Regions from separate parts of the Homo sapiens genome. Here regions 1, 2 and 3 are each linked to region 4. The links are contacts of gene promoters, found by promoter capture Hi-C in blood cells and fetal thymus (Javierre and others, 2016). All regions are on one chromosome and are shown on one strand. Each heading gives the region's core, a stretch centred on a gene start or on the middle of the fragment in contact. The rest is flanking DNA. Distances are from core to core; before and after follow the strand shown. Region 1 has its middle 20 kb from the start of FCGR3A. Region 2 has its middle 6.4 kb from the start of TRG-GCC4-1. Region 3 has its middle 1.8 kb from the start of TRG-TCC2-6. Region 4 holds the start of FCRLA (Fc receptor like A).

The links. The method cuts DNA at HindIII sites, captures the fragments that hold promoters and counts their contacts. A CHiCAGO score of 5 or more calls a contact.
Region 1: a contact is called between a fragment that was not itself captured here and the fragment with the promoter of FCRLA in region 4, in 3 of 17 cell types (naive B cells, total B cells and total CD4 T cells). The highest score is 7.2, in naive B cells.
Region 2: a contact is called between a fragment that was not itself captured here and the fragment with the promoter of FCRLA in region 4, in 15 of 17 cell types (naive B cells, total B cells, erythroblasts and 12 more). The highest score is 13.3, in naive B cells.
Region 3: a contact is called between a fragment that was not itself captured here and the fragment with the promoter of FCRLA in region 4, in 4 of 17 cell types (total B cells, naive B cells, M1 macrophages and 1 more). The highest score is 14.4, in total B cells.

What each region holds. Positions count from the first base shown.
Region 1 is chr1:161,568,711-161,571,410 of GRCh38, forward strand. No RefSeq gene overlaps it. Among named protein-coding and RNA genes, the nearest start is that of FCGR3A, 20 kb to the left of the region's middle. The HindIII fragment of the contact is 5,347 bases long and covers 1-2,700 here.
Region 2 is chr1:161,485,652-161,488,351 of GRCh38, forward strand. No RefSeq gene overlaps it. Among named protein-coding and RNA genes, the nearest start is that of TRG-GCC4-1, 6.4 kb to the left of the region's middle. The HindIII fragment of the contact is 3,026 bases long and covers 1-2,700 here.
Region 3 is chr1:161,531,515-161,534,214 of GRCh38, forward strand. No RefSeq gene overlaps it. Among named protein-coding and RNA genes, the nearest start is that of TRG-TCC2-6, 1.8 kb to the left of the region's middle. The HindIII fragment of the contact is 329 bases long and covers 1,266-1,594 here.
Region 4 is chr1:161,705,970-161,708,669 of GRCh38, forward strand. It overlaps FCRLA (Fc receptor like A), which reads left to right and starts at 1,260. Exons shown (of 5, transcript NM_032738.4): 1 at 1,260-1,374. The coding sequence starts at 1,296. RefSeq lists enhancers at 1-15, 1,556-1,735. The HindIII fragment of the contact is 3,109 bases long and covers 1-2,116 here.

The DNA of each region.
Region 1 (2,700 bases), core at 82-2,581, 140 kb before region 4:
GGCCTCTACTCAATAGATGCCAGGGGAAGCCCTCTCCAGTTGTAATAGCCAAAAGTGTCTCCAAACATTGGCAAATGTCCCCTGGGAGCGGGGGGCAAAACCAACTCTGTTGAGAACCACTGGTGTAGAGGAAGCCAAGAATGTAGATAAAATCATTTAGAAGTAGTAAGACATATACAGGATCACGTTTCTTAGCCCTTTAAAGTTCATTTTCAACCTCTTTGAACATAAACATACTTTGTTTAATTTTATCTTAATTTTCATATCTAGTTTGTCAAGTTTACAAGTATTAAATTGTATTATAATGCTAAAAAGGCTTTTAAAATTACACCTCTACCTCTCCTTCCCCCTCCAGTTCTGATGCACCCTTTGAGGGGGTCTCTTCTCACTTAGAAAATTATTGATAGAGAATTATGTAGAGGACAGAAAGCTGAACAAACACCAATATTTAATGGACAGGTGAAGACAGAGGAGTGTTCAGGGAGAGTAAGGGGAGTCATCAGAGGGACACCAGGAGGGGAACCCAGGTAAGTCGTGATGAAACAGATGGTGAATGACTTCAGAGTATTTTGGCCCTGCAAACTGCAAGGGTACATTGTAAAAGACTGCATAGTGCCCCTGGGGTTCATAAATCACTTCTTAGAGAAGTGAGAGAATTCTGAGTTCTCCCTGGGCTTAGAGTAAAAAAGGCATTTCCAGTGATAGGGCCCAATGCAACATTTAGGACAACTCGGGGAAGAAAACTTTGAGATTCAGAAAGAAAAATGACTTCTTCTGCCAAGGGAGAGATAAGGAAAACTGCAGATGAGGAGATGGCCTGAGGTTTTGGTCTTGAAGGGAAGATCAGAAAACAAGGTCTGGGTTCCCGTTTATTTTGGAAGCAAAGTATTATCGTGCATTAGAAACTAGGCTCTGTACTCTTCTTTTGCTTATCTTCATATCTTAGAAAACTTTTCTTTTAAAATCTTCCAGCCAGTTTAGTTGGCCAAGAGAAAGATTTAGATATTTTGACATTTCCGCCAATATAACTTCTGATTATCTCCTTTGTGGCTGGCTAGAGTGGTGGCACTGGCATCCTAGCTCTCCAATCAAAATTTTTAAAATAAAGATCTGGCCGGGCGCAGTGGCTCACACCTGTAATCCCGGCACTTTGGGAGGCCGAGGGGGGTGGATCACCTGAGGTCGGGAGTTGAGACCAGTCTGACAACATGGAGAAACCCCATCTCTACTAAAAACACAAAATTAGCCAGTCGTGATGGCGCATGCCTGTAATCCCAGCTAATTGGGAGGGTGAGGCAGGAGAATTGCTTGAACCCAGGAGGCAGAGGTTGTGGTGAGCTGAGATTGCGCCATTGCACTCCAGCCTGGGCAACAAGAGCGAAACTCCATCTCAAAAACTGAAATAAAATAAAATAAAATAAAGATCTATGGGCATTTTAATAATGCTCTATTTATCTGTGATTTTCAGCAGTTTAAATATGATATGTTTAGGAGTGTGTGTGTGTGTGTGTGTGTGTGTGTGTGTGTGTGTATTTTAGTCTGCCTATGCTTCTTTGTCCTTCTTGGATTTGTGGTTTGATAACTTCCATTATTTTTGAAAAATTGTTGGCCATTTTCTCTTTAAATGTTTCCTCTCTCCCATTCTTTCTCTATTCTCTGGGATTTCAATTACATATATGTTAGGCCAGTTTACATTGTCCCACAGTTCTTGGGTGTTCTGTTCTATTTTCTTTTTTTTTATTCCTTGAATTTCAGTTTGGGTAATTTCTATGAACCCATTTTCAAAGTACTGATTTTTTTTTTCTCAGCTGTATGGCATCTACTGATGACCCTGCCTAATACATTCTTCTTCTCTTTTACTCTGTTTCAAAATTTGCTAATATTTCCATTTGACTCTTCGTATAGTTTCTATCTTTCTGCTGAAATTCCCCATCTGTTTATGTATGTTGTCTACCTTTTCCACTAGAGCCTTTAACATGTTAAATATGGTTGTAATTAATGGTTTGATTTTAAAATTCCCTATTTGATAGTACCAACATCTGAATCATCTTTTAGCAGTTTCTATTGCTTGCATTGTCTGTTGACAGGATTTTTAAACCTTGCTTTTCTGTGTTGGCTCATTGTTTTTATTGAATTCTGGACATTATATGTGGGACAGTAGGAACTGAGGTAAATTGCATTTATGATTAGAAATGAGAACCCGTCTTATTCTGGTAAGCTCTTAGTGTGGGCCAATCTAGTCAAGAGTTGAGCTGGGTTCGGGTTTTATTATTGCCATAGTTACCTTCAAATTCTTCTAGTGTTATCTTGTGCTTGGGTGGAGGCAGCATTTCAGTAGACCAAGAGCCGCCGGTACTCCTGGATGGTATTTTCTCAATTTTCCTGCACTACCCCAACTTTAGGACTTTCTAAAGTATGTGCCTGCACCTCAGAGATTCTCTCTTCAGTGGCAGAGTACTTTTGCTTCTTATTCAGTACTTGCTAGCCTGGGAGGTAGGGCAGAGATTTATCCATTGTGAAATTGCCTTTGCAGAATATATATATATAAATAAGGAGAGAAATCTGGCTGGGCGTGGTGGCTCATGTTTGTAATCCCAGCACTTTGGGAAGCTGAGGCAGGTGGATCACCTGAGGTCAGAAGTTCGAGACCAGCCTGGCCAAGATGGTGAAATCCAGTCTCTACTAAAACTACAAAATTAG
Region 2 (2,700 bases), core at 1-2,500, 220 kb before region 4:
CTTTTCCATGAAGGCTGAGGGATTCTCATCTGGCTTTTTGTCTATTCATGAACAGTTTAGAGTAATTAAGAGGTTTGGCTCTAGTTCTTTGTAGGCCCTCCAATATGCACATTAAAAAGTGTTTCCTTTTCCATTCATCTTTGGAGTCACTGGAGTTCCATTCAGGGTTGTCAAGAGGTACCACCTCTCTTCCTATTGGGAATGATGATTCCCCTATTTCTTTGCCTTCCATATTTTCTCTTTTCCTTTTTGGCCTACTATAGGAGACATATTCCTCATCTCCAAACTTCTCTGCTGTCTGTAGAGCTGACTGTTTTTCAGCTGTGGTTAGGGTTTGGCTTAAGAGCAGCATAATGTCCCTTTATGTGAGGTCAAACACCTGAGTTAAATTTTGGAAAGTTTATATATACCTACCAGGGTCATTAGAGAATCAGCCTAAGTCTCCCTTCATTTGCCTAAGGTCCTGTAATGACAAGAGAACTTGAACCCTAAGATGGCATCACCTTCATTGGGCATTTCATGTAGGGGTAAGAACAAAGTTGGGAGAGTGGGGAGTTGTGGAGATGGTAGAACTGGAGGAGCTGATGAAAATGTTGGAGGGGGCTCTGAATAAGGGGGACAAAAAGGGCCAGGACACTCAATCACTGCCTCAGATGGTTCCCCCAGGAGTTGCTTCTCTAATTTTGGGGAATCATTCCCTTTGGGCCTGCCTGATATGACTACTAAAATAACTGGGTCGATTGTGCAGTGCTTGAAAAAGTCTAATAAGAAGGCCCTGCCCTTGTGCAAAAGCAGAGTTTCAGGGTCAAAGGAGTCTCAGTGCTTTAGAATACACTCAAAAGGAGTCCTTTGTTCCCTCCTTCCTTTGGAATGGCCCAAGGTTGAGAGGAAGACAGTGGGGGCATGCTCCCAACTGTTTTCCCTCCTTGGTTCCCTGGGCCCTGGCATCCACTAAAGGTGCCACCCATGGATGCAGGCATGACCTGCAGCCATGGATCCAGAGGAGCCAAATGATGGAGTTAGTCATGCTCACCCATGTGACTCTAGTCCGCTTGTGATTTCCCTTTGACTTCCTAGACTTGTGTGATCCGTATGGCTCCCCGATAGATAGACCTCAGGAAAGACTATGTAACAGTTGTATTTGGCAAGGCCCATTAATGAAGGGAATGTACTTAGTTGAGTTCTATAATCTGCTATTGTGGCCTAAGAATAAAGCATTTATTCTTAGGCAGTGGTTGTGGTTAACTTCTGGACATAAAATCTCCTTATTATTTAAGTACCATTTTAGTTGGAGGAAAATAGGTGTCTTAAAAGATTGTAGGGACCGAATGGCGGTTTTTCTGCTGATGTAACAGTATTGGGGCTAAAATTTGGTTTTAGAGGACATTTTTCTCTCATTGTTGAGTTTTCCTATTCATAGATGGGACATACAGCCTGGTCTCTAGTAGAGGGGAGCAAAAAGGGAGAAGAATTAGAAAATAGAGTGTTTCAGTAAAGGGCTTTGCCAAGATGGCTCATGGAGAGGATTTCTATTCCACTAGGTGGCGCTGTTTAAATACCATGTGCTCTCCAAACCAAGGGGAGAGAGAGAGATGTTCACTGGGGGCAAGGGTGGGGTGGTGGTGCGAAACTTTTTGTTCCTAGAAAAATCACAAAAATGGCATTCCCTTTAGCTATATTCCTGGTTACGATGGCATTTGTTGATCTTGACTAACAGGATTATTTTCCTGAGCTGTATGAATTCCCACAGCATTGCATACAGAGACTGGATAAGAGACATGGTGATTACGGACAAGAAAGCAGGAAAATTGCCATAGGAAAAGCTGGAGATCCTGTTGCTGACACCCAACAGTGTGGCAGTTGGAGGCTTGGGTTACTCCAGAAGCCTTCAGGTAATACAGGGGTGTGGCCCTTGCCTGGAACCATCAGTTGCCTCTGGACCTTTTCCAGCCCAACATGACAGCTAGGATCTCCATGAAAGGAAACTGGTTTAAACAGAGCGAACTTTCCCAGCACTCTGAGGCCACTGGGGTGTTTGCCAAGATCCTCCCACCAAGTGTGTCATCTGAGTCTTGAGATCCGTGGCCACCTTAAAGGTTTTAAACTGGCCATCAGACACTCAGTTTTTAGTTTAATTTTAAAATTGAGGGCAGAAGGCCCTGAAATGAAAGTAAATATTTGGAGTCTGCTCCTATCCTCACCCTTCTGATGAATCTACTTTGGATCCTAGATGGGCCCCCACAATGAAATGGCCTCATTGTCTGAGGTGATACCCAAGGTCCGTTGTCTCACAGTCAAGGAAATCAAGGACGTGAACACACAGAGAATGAGGTTAAGAGCAGAAGTTTAATGGGTGAAAGAAAAAGAATACCTGTCTGCTGGAGAGAGGGGTCCCAGAGAAATCAGTTTCCAGATCTGCAGTGAAATGCAGGGGGTTTTATAGATACCTGGTGAGGAGGCAGTGTTTGATTTACATGGGGCATTAAAGATTGGTTGGACTAGGTCTACCATTTGCATAGGGTGCAAAAAACTGGTTAGGACTAGGTGTGCCATTGCCTAGGATGCAAATTTCTGGCCGCTCCCACTCTAATCTTTTATTATGCAAGTGGGTCTTCTTCCTGAGCTGGGCCATGTCGCCTGTTCCTTTACTGTACATGTGGTAACAAAAAAAAACATAAAGGAAGATGGAGCCTGAATGTT
Region 3 (2,700 bases), core at 180-2,679, 170 kb before region 4:
CTAGCCACGCACTATTGAGCACGTGAACTTGGCTAGTTTCTCTAAGAAACTGCATTTTCAAATTTAGTCTTAGTAAATAAATCAATTGAAATAAAATTAATAAGTGAAAATTTTAAAATGGATACTTAATAACTCAACCATTGGAGAAGGTTTCAGTGCATTTGAAACAACGTGGCTATTGAATCTACTTTTTCAATTGTAAATTTTATGAAATCTAAATACGGATTTTTTTCCGAAGAAAATTTCCTTTCCGAGTTGAAATGTGCCGTCTTTAAGTGTAAAATACATAGCGATTTTTGAAGACTAGCTAAGAAAAAAAAAAACAGCCAATTAATATTTTTATATTGATTACTTGTAATATTTTGCATACGTTGGGTTAAAGAATAGGATTTGTTATTAAAATTATCACCTCTTTCTTTTTACTTTTTAATGTGACTATTAAAAATGACATGTGGGACTCGAATTATGTTTCTACCGTAGTGTGCCGGTCTAGAGAGTAGAAATATAACTTTGCCAACAGTCAGCGACTTTCCCTGAAAGCATGCTGGTAGCTTAGGAATATCTTTTTCTAAAAGACAATTTCCAAAAAAAAACGCAATATTCCCGGTTGTACTCGTTAGTATAGTGGTGCGTATCCCCGTCTGTCACGCGGGAGAGCGGGGTTCGCTCTCCCGACGGGGAGATTACAGTTGCTTTTTATTTTTTCTCCTCGTCTCTTCAGTCAAGAAAAAACAATTTACAAGAGCTTAAAAACCAAATTAAAATAATTAACAAAAAGAAACACAAACTCCAGTCCCAGTTAGCTACAATCCCTTTTTAATAAATTCCAGTCTTCATTTTAAACCTAGTTAGCTCCTAACACCTATTTTTCTTATATGCCTGTGTTAATGTTTAGGCCTTGTATACTCAATGCTGTAACCCAAATTGTTTCCTCTCGCCTAAAGGCTATCAAGCTCCAAAGGGCAATGCAATAAAACCACGCATAAATACGCCTTTCTTCCAAAAACCCTTCAACCTGCGCCCCCGCCCGCCCCGCAAAAACCTTAGCTGCTGTTCCCCACACAACACCCCTTTCCAGCAAAAAATTGCCAAAAAATTCAACACCCAATCTCCCTAACAGCAGTTAGGAGTGGAGACCCTAAGGGGGAACTGAAAGGAGTTAGTTAGCTTGGTAGATAGCAAGGGAAGTGTCTCTGGAGAGCCCCTGGCCCCACGGGTCAGTGCCTCATTCCCACATAACAAAAAAGCAGCCTGGGAAAAAGTCAAGCTTCGGGCAAACTAGCACCGGAGGTTGCGCCTGAAAACATGCCGGTGGCTGCACAAATAGGAGAGCCTCCGACTTTCTGAGATAAAAACTTGCACAAACCTCCAGCTCACTCAAATAAGGGAACAAGGCCTGAAATAGAAATGCCTTTGTTCTTTGTATAGTCAGCGGGCTCCCAGGAAAAAGTTCCTTCTCTTTTTGTAGGCATAGGCACAGTAGGCTCCAGTGGGTTCCAGTAAGCACTTTTCTTTCCTTTTTTTAAACTGCAAGTCCAGCCTCTATAAATCACAAGTTCAGCCCCTAATTGGTCCTGGGCAAGGTCCCGAGCCAAGCTTTCACTTCAGTTCCTTAATAGGTCTAGGGCCAAGCAAAGCAGCCTCTACAAATCATCACTTAAGCCCCTAATTATTCCCGGCCGAGGTCCTAGGCTAAGGTCCCGGGCCAAGCTTTCTAATTAGTCCCAGGCCAAGGTCCCAGGCCAACCTAAATCACGCATTCTCCAAAACAGCCGGCAAACTAAGCACATTCCTTCCCGTTTCCAGTCCATAAAACCCCCCCAAGTGGCCTCATAGTAAGCAACCCATTCGGGCCCCCCTCTCTGCTGGCAAAAGGCTCAGATGTACTGGACTGAGCATTTGATTTGGAACTGAGTTACATGGGAGAGAGGCAGGGATTCAGTTTGGCTGGGAATCAAACTCTTTTGATAATTTCCTAATAAACTGATAGTCATTAGATGACTTGTAGTCTCGATAAGTTGAAACTTTTTCCTAACATGCTGTTTATGATACTGAGTTCTTTGTCACCGGTTGAACTAACAGCAATTGTATTCACAAATTTTCCAGCCTTTAAAATACTGTCTGAGGGTTTTATGTATCCGTTATCTTTTATTATACAAAAGTCATTTATTGGAATGACATATATAATTAGATTGACCCTAACCATTCAGGCTGGATGAGGCAACACAGTGTGAAGATTAAGTGCATGGGCTCTGTTGTGCTTCCTGTGTTTGAATCTTGGCTCTCTTTGTCTCCATTTCCTCCTGTAAAAGAGGATAATGATGATAATTTTAATTCTTCAATGGGTTAATATATAAACATATATTACAAATGTATAAACATTGCCAGGAGGGTCCATTGTTAATGCCTGTAGTGGGATGATGTTTGAGATTTTAAGTCTCATTCCCTAAAATGGAGGTGAAATTCAACAGGGATGGGAAGAAAGGACATCTGCACCTCAGCCACCCTTTAGCTCCAAACCTCCCTTATGCTCTCATCTGCCCCACAGCCTCCATCCTGTAACAAGAGGACCAGCTGTGCCAGTGGAGGCCACAGCATCTAGCTTATGCCTTCAATGTAACCTGTTACTGCCCACCTGCTCTCCCTGATATTCTCTGACTCTTAGTACTAAGGTCCCACAGAGGCTGCAGTGCCCACGGG
Region 4 (2,700 bases), core at 10-2,509:
CTTGGCTCACTGCAACTTCTGCCTCCTGGGTTCAAATGATACTCATGCCTCAGCCTCTGAAGTAACTGGGACTACAGCCATGCACCACCATGCCCATCTAATTTTTTTTTTTTTTTTTCAGTAGAGATGGGGTTTCACCATACTGGCCAGGCTGGTCTTGAACTCCTGACCTCCAGTCCAGTGATCCGCCCACCCTGGCCTCCCAAAGTGCTGGGATTACAGAGGCATGAGCCACAGTGCCTGGCCTACCTTACCCCATTTCTGATGGCTCATTTCATCTCCAAATAACCTACTGGAGGCCTGGTGGGTGTTATGATGACAGAAAGGGGAGGAATGTGGCCACTGTGAAAAGACACATGGGCCCTACCATTAAGTAGGCCTCAAACAAATAGCAAACATTCAGAGGCAGGGACAATGGTTCCCAGGAGGCCATCTGGAACGGAAGGGAGAGGCTGTAGCCTCTATATTGCTCCTATTCCTGAGTCTCCTCAGGTTTCTCAAGATATCGGATGCCTCCTATCTCTAATTTCCTCAGGATCAGTGGCCTGAGCTTTGGCTATGAGCCTAAGCCCTGAGCTGACTGCTGGATCCTCTGGGAATAGATTTTCTTTTTCCTCTACTCTTTCCCAGTGGATTCTCCCTGCCTTGTACTCATATTTCCACTGAGACTGAGCAGACTTAGTCATGCTCCAGAAATAGAGAGCTGACACGAGTCTAGAGAAATTTGCATGCAAATTTGTGTGGGCTTTGGATAGTCAGAGCCTACTAGAGACTAATCTGATATCTAACTTGGTGCCGTGACTAATCTTCCTTCTCTGTCTCGCTACCTTCTAGTCACTAGAAACATATAAGTGTTGGAATGGGCAGGACATTTGAATTCTCATCATTGATTCTCCAGTGATTTTCTATTGGCCTTCAAACAACATCCCACCTTCTGTCCCCAGTTGCATCACCAGTGAAAAGGGTGGTTGTTGCACTGACCTTTCCCAGAGTGTACATGAAGGCCAGCTGGCTATCAGACAATGACATGCTTTGACAGGCCCCTGAGCTCTGTGAGTAAATTCTTGAACAGCTGAGAGTGCTACCATTTTGTCATAGCCCTAAGGGTGCAGATGATGCTGAAAGCGTGTTGGCCAAATCTGAATGATGAAAGCCAATTACAAACTAGAAAATGAAAACAGACCCCAGATGCAAGGAGATGAGACAGTTAAATTTACTTCCTCTTTTCTAATCTGAGAGGTTTCATGTTGAAGAAAATCAGTGTTGGGGTTGCAGGAGACCTAAACACAGTCACCATGAAGCTGGGCTGTGTCCTCATGGCCTGGGCCCTCTACCTTTCCCTTGGTGTGCTCTGGGTGGCCCAGATGCTACTGGGTAAGTAAAATATTTGAATATTGGTGTGGGAATGGAGCTTTGCTTACCTTGGGAGAAAGGACCAGAAGGAAAGAAACATGGACTAATTCTGGCCCTCCAAAGAAGCAGTATTCAGGTGGAATAAGAAGGGTAGGTATAAGAAAGTTTGGTGTACAGGATTGAATTACTTTCTGAATATAAAAATCTTCCATCCTGAAAGTCCCCTCTGATCATGATATCCTCTCTAGCTCTAATCTCAACTCTTTTCTTTCACTTGTGAGACAAGTTTTCTTAAAAGAATAGTTTGCACTTGCTATCTCCACTTCCTCACTTCTCACACGCTCCTCAATGCTTGCAGCCTGGCTTCCACTGGAATTGGTTTTGTCTAGGGCACAACGATCTCTATATTGACTGGGTTATGGCATGCTTTTCAGTTCATATCCTGCTGGACTTCTCTGCTGCACTGGGCTCTGTTGATCACTTACTCCTTCTTGCATTCTCTACTACCCTGGCTTCCATGGCACCATTTTCTCCTTGTACTACATGGACTTCTCTTGATCCCTTAATAGCTTCTCTTCTCTTCCCCTTAAACACTAGTGTTCTCTATAGTTATAGCCTTGCCTCTGTACTCCTCTTTCTTTACACAATCTCCTTCATGAGCTTATTTGTCTGTTTAATTTTTGCCACTATAACTCTGTATTTAAGAGTCCCAAATCATATCCCCAACCCTAACCATGCTTTTGAGCTTCACATTCAAATATCAAGCTTCATACCAGACATATCTACCTACATATCTCACAAGTGTCTCTGCACCATGTGACTAGAGTTGAACTTATCTGTCCTTTTGGCCCCTGCCTCATCTAATTCATTTTCCACTTTCTGATCTCAGCTAATGACACCAGCATCTACCCTTACAAGGCCATAAACCTCAGAAACAACCCAGACTCTTCCTTCTTTTTCATTCTCTAAATCTGATCAATCATTAGGTTTGGCCAATTTTACCTTCTAAATTGTTCATAGAAGCAGTCCCTTGCCTGGATCATCACTAATGTCTTAGGACAAGCCCTCATCCTCTATGACTTGGGCTATTCCAGTAAATTCCTAACTAATCTCCTCGTCCAAACCTTGTGTTCTTGAAATGAATTCTGTACCCTGCAGACAGAGTAATTTCTAAAACTCAAGTTTACCAGCCCAAATTCTTTATCATGGCACAAAAGGCCAAGCAGCCTCTACTTTTACCCTCTCAGCCTTGTAACTTATGCTCTAATAAATCTCAATCAGTTCATATTTACATACTCACACACCAGACTCTTGCCTGTCTCTAAGGCTTTGCTTATACCACTATCT